Linked DNA regions of Homo sapiens: region 2 is linked to region 1. The links are contacts of gene promoters, found by promoter capture Hi-C in human tissues and cell types (Jung and others, 2019). All regions are on one chromosome and are shown on one strand. Each heading gives the region's core, a stretch centred on a gene start or on the middle of the fragment in contact. The rest is flanking DNA. Distances are from core to core; before and after follow the strand shown.

Region 1 (2,685 bases), core at 78-2,577:
AAATAAAAAATAAAGTGTGTAACATGATGTTTTGATATACCTATACATTATGAAATGATTACCACAGTAAAGTGAATTAATATTTCCATCACCTCGCATAGTTACCTTTTGTGTGTGTGTGGTGTGAACACTTATGATCTACTCTGTTAGCAAATTTCAAGTACAAAATTTGTGTCGCATTGCACCATCACGTCATTGCCTATTAATACTGTAATAATAATACAGTATTATTAACTATAGTCACCATGCTGTATGTACATCAGATCCCCAGAACTATTCACACTGCATAACTGAAACTTTGGACCCTTTGCCCAGCATCTCCCCATTCCCCCAACCCACTGGCAACTACCACTCTACTCTCTTTCTGAAACTTCCTCTTTTTTAGATTCCCAATATAAGCGATGCCATGCAGTATTTATTTTTGCAGCCACTTTAAAAACTTTATTTCACTTCAACTTCACCACAAGTACAACCATTGGCATAGTCTTCCAGATGGGAAAACTGAAGCCAAGTGACTTTTGCCAGTTGGATAGGTGGGTTAATAGTGGAATTGTCACACTTATGTTTTCTCACTTTGTTGGGACTCTCTGCTACACAATACAACCGAAAGTGTTAACGTAAAAACATGAACCAGCTTAAAATATCAGAAAAAAAAAATAGTAATGAAACTCTATGAGGAGGAAGAAAGGGCAGAGAACTAGAAGACCCCGGTTCTATTTCTGGACTCCGGCCCAAGTTGGCGCTCCTCACTTTGGACACGTCACTACCCTCCGTGCACAGGACAGCCATCTAAGCCAAGGGTTCAAGCTTTTCTCTTCTTCGGAAAAGGGAAGTGTGGTTCGTGATCTCCTTTGAGATGCAGATGAAAAAATGGCCCCTTGAGCAACAGTAAATGCACAGTTCCCGCAAAACCCATCCAGATAGGGAATTCCTGGCCCAATCCAGCTCCCTCCAACCTCGGGGCGGGCGGAGGCCAGAGAGTGCAGGGAGAGTGGGAGATGCGGATAGGGAAGAGAGGGAGTCCCCCACCCCTGGGTACCGCCCGACTTTGAGGTCCCGTCACTGGGTCCCGGCCGCGCACCGCCGTTCCCGCCACCCTGGACAGACGGGTCCGGAAGGCCCGCGACCCAGGCGCCCTCCTAGGGTCCCGACGCCCCAGGCCTCCGCTCAGAGGCGGCTCCTCGGCCCCGGCATGGAGAGCTCACCTTTCTCCAGAGACGCCAGCTCCTGCTCCACCGCCCAGCCCATGCGCTCCGGCGCCATGGCCGCTGCCTCCAGACCGCCGCCCGTCAGCGACCCGTCAGCCATTTCAAATTTCCGCGGACGGCAGCCCAGGCAACGACGTGATGACGCAGGCTCTGCTGATTTGATAGTCGGGCCGAGGCCGTGGACCAATTAGAGTCCGGCCCCGCTCCAGCCCCCACCAACACTGCCCCCTCGCCCCAGGCTGACAGCTGTTCTTGTTCAAGTGCCCGGCCTTTGCTTTTCTGGGATGAACTTGAAGAAAGTCGAATTGGAATATAATTTGGAATGATTTTCGAAAAAAACGAACCAGCAATGCCTGGAAATGAGATATAGTGGAAAAGTCACTGGGTTGAGAGTCAAAAAACATAGTATTTAAACTTACCTGGGCTATTCCTAGTGGTATTGCCTTGGGCAAGTCATTTCACCTCCCACAAGCACAACTTCAACTGAAAAGGATGCTGGCCTACGTGGGCCCAAAACTTTCACCACCAAACACCAGTCTCTCTCTGTCTTTCAATACACACACACACACACACACACACACAGAGAGAGAGAGAGAGAGAGAGAGCATATTTTCAAAGAATGTCAAATTAAATTTAGTAAGTAAATTTGTTAATTTGCATTAATCAAAGACAACTATAATCTCCATCATAATGGCTAACATTTACTGCATATTGTGTGCAAGATACCCTCCTGCATGCGTTACCTGGATTGTTCTGTTTAATCTTCACAATGATCCTATGAGACGGGAGCTATTACTATACCCATTTTACAAATGAGCAAATGGAGTCACTAAGAAGTTAAGTCACTTCTCCAATCTAACCCAGCAAAGCCAGGATGTGAAACCAGCCAGACTCCATGAAGAAGCCTTTTAATGTCTCTGCCAGGCCATCACTACTAGAATGATGAGGTCAGCCCAAGATAGCCCAGGTAACCAGGACACCAAGTGGGATGCGTCCACAGGGGACCAAGAGCCTGGTCATGACAGTTCGTCTGTGCAGTCTTAATGTGGGGAAACATTTCCACTTATTGCTTTGAAGAAACACCTTGGGCTAAAGTCTCTCGGATCCCTTACAGCTGAAATAAAATGGAGCCAGGAGGGGTGACTGGAAAGCTGCACTTAATTGGGCTAACTTTTCCAGGAAGTAAGATTTCTTTGACTTTTGTTTGCAGAATCTGACCTTACATTTATTTGCTCACTGAACAAATACATATTGAGCACCATGAGGTAAAAACACAGAAAACAATAATCAAGACTATCAACAGGCCTTGAGGATGACGCTAGCTTTTTCATTATTCTCTTCTTCAACCTTGCCGCCCACAAACCTCACAAATGGCAGCATTTCTCCTCACCCATTTGCAGCATCACTGGAGACAACACAGTTCTCTTCTCATCCAATTATCAAATATTTCATCAACCATCAAGATATTACTCAAACC
Region 2 (2,685 bases), core at 122-2,621, 510 kb after region 1:
AGAACATTCTTAATCAAGACAGAAGTAAGGGGGCAGCAGTCTCCTAGAAATCAATTCAAACTGTCTTATCATTGTGCAGTACTATGCTGTGCTCTGTGCTACAAAGGCTAGCCATATTTAACACTGAAGCTTTTTTCCATGTTGAACATTTCTGAGACCCAATCAACAACATATTGAATTGTTTTGTGTATGTGGTTTGAAGATTTAAAGAAACATTTTCATGGATGCTGCACTCTCCCTTTCAAAGGAAACCACACTGCCAGCCTGTCCCGAACTACTGCGTGAACTGGAGTTATTCATTCAGTGAATAGGCACTTACAGAGTATCCACTGAAGAGCGGGCACCAAGGATGCACAGGTGTGGAGAGAGAAATCGAGCAAAATGGTTAAGAGTATGGACTTAAGGAGTTTCATGAATCTAGGCTAGGGTTCAAGTTTTGCCTTCTACCAGCTGTGAGGCCTTTTCAGCTCAGTTTACTTATTTGTAAAATGGAGATGACGTATAAATAGGTCAACCTCATTGGTGGTTGTGAAGATTAAATGAGATAATGTATATAGTATTTTTATGTGCCAGACATTCTGCTAAATAAATGATGGATATTAGGACAAACCAGCATCCACAAGGAATCAATGTATTGTTGAATCTACAATACAAGGTGAAACGGAGTTTAACAGGAGATATGCAGAAGGCATAATGGAAGCAGAAGGTCCATTCTGCTGGGGGTTAAGGGAAATAGAATGAGGAAAACTCCCAAAAAAGAAGGCATACTCTGGTTGGACCTTACAGTCCTTGAGCCCAGGAAAAGGAGAAAGAAACAGCTTAAATAAGAACATGGAGGGCAGGGCGCTGGTGGCTCATGCCTGCAAATCCCAACACCTTGGGAGGCTGAGGCGAGAGGATTGCTTGAGCCCAGGAGTTCCAGAGGCCCTGTCTCTACGGAAAAAAAAAAAAAAATTAGCCAGGCATGGTGGCATGTGCCTATAGTCCTAGCCACTTGGGAGGCTGAGGCAGGAGGATCACTAGTGCCCAGGAGTTAAGAGGCTGCAGTGAGCCATGATCGTGCCACTGCACTACTGCCTGGGCGAAAGAGTGAGACCATGCCTCAATAACATAAAGTAACATAAAATAACATAACATAAAATGACATAACATAAAATAAAATAAAATAAAATAAAATAAAATAAAATAAAATAAAATAAAATAAAATAAAAACATGGAGGCATGAGCTCTAACCTACAGCAGGTTTTAGGGAACTCTGAGTAATACAGTGTGGTTGGCAAGTGGAAGGCTACAGCAGTATAGTAGGTTAGAGAAAAGTTGGGTGAGATCTGATTGTAACAAGTTTTGAATGGCATGCTAAAAAGTGTGGACTTCTAACTATAATGAGAAGCCCTTGTAGGTTTTTAAACAAGTGTATGACATTATCACTTCTGTGTTTTAGACCAATAATCCTAATGGTTGTGTGGGGTCTATACTTTTAATGAGAAGAGAGAAGATTAGGAAGGAAAGGTGATCATGTTTGCATTACCATCTTTGAAGCAGAGTGGTAGCAGTGGAAAGGGAAAGGAGGAGAAACTAATGACATGGTTCAGGTGTAGAGTCAAGTGCAACTTACAGGACGTGAGGGGTGAGGGAGGTGGAGGCACTGGAGTCTGCTAGTGCAAGTGGTTGGTAGACAGTTACCACTGTTCACTCAATAGCACGTACTGGGTGTCTACTACCAAAGTCACCAACGTAGAAATGGTTAAGAGGTAGCTCTTGTTATTCAGTTCGTATCTTAAAATCTAATTCTTTGACCTCTTCATCCTTGGTTTCTTGCATCCTTGCTGACCTCTGTGTCTCCTCTGTCTTTTCTCAATAACGTTAATTTCCCCCTTCCCTTTTTTTGGTTGATGGTAGTGTTGAAGATCTCACGTTATGCTGAGATCTTGAACTCTTCACATCTTTACACTGGATCTGATTAGAAGAATGGAGTTTTGAAACATTTTTTAATACAGAAGATTTATGATCAAAAAGAAAAGTCAGGTAATAGTAGGTATTTGATAATTCAGCAAATAACCCAACCATTTGTGTCAATTTATCTCATTAGTAGACACTATCTCCCCAGGCATATCATTCAGATCATATGCCACTGGTCAATATTTCGTGCGCAGTATACCATTCCTCCTTAATCACAGGTGTAACTATTTACCAGTTTGACATTTACAAATCCATCTATAAGCAAATAACCACACAAAGCCAGCAGACAGGGCATGTAAGAGGCCAATAAACTGAAGGCAAGACAGCAACGGCAACTATGGCAAAGGGATGAACTGTGCCAGCACAATTACGGTATACAATGACCAATAAAAATGTGCTTGTATAAAATAACTGCTTTATGAAATTTGCACAGAATACACAAGTAAGGCAGAACAATCATACTGAAAATAAAGTTGCAAGGCCAAATAGCCTATTATATTCTTTTCAACTTTATTTAGAGGGCTGCACAGTTTTCTTTTTTTCTCAAGTAATTACTAGCTATTCACAACTCAATCGACCAAATGAGCTGTGCCACTAAATATAAAAACGACGTATAAAGAATAGGGCGAATCTGCACAGCAATTAGGGATAGAAAGATGTACTGATACAGTTTTTGGTAATACAGTTGTGACTATTAATCCATTCTAAATTCTGTATCATTATAAA

The links. The method cuts DNA at HindIII sites, captures the fragments that hold promoters and counts their contacts. A contact is called where the count stands out against the background at its distance.
Region 2: a fragment that was not itself captured here is called in contact with the fragment with the promoter of SHCBP1 in region 1 in 1 of the 25 tissues and cell types used here (lymphoblastoid cells).

The regions. Positions count from the first base shown.
Region 1 is chr16:46,620,052-46,622,736 of GRCh38, forward strand. SHCBP1 (SHC binding and spindle associated 1) reads right to left here and starts at 1,328. Exons shown (of 13, transcript NM_024745.5): 1 at 1,206-1,328. The coding sequence starts at 1,308. RefSeq lists enhancers at 471-1,059, 1,060-1,646. The HindIII fragment of the contact is 15,901 bases long and covers 1-2,685 here.
Region 2 is chr16:47,132,455-47,135,139 of GRCh38, forward strand. All of the region lies in intron 1 of NETO2 (neuropilin and tolloid like 2), which reads right to left. Among named protein-coding and RNA genes, the nearest start is that of NETO2, 10 kb to the right of the region's middle. The HindIII fragment of the contact is 4,421 bases long and covers 1-2,685 here.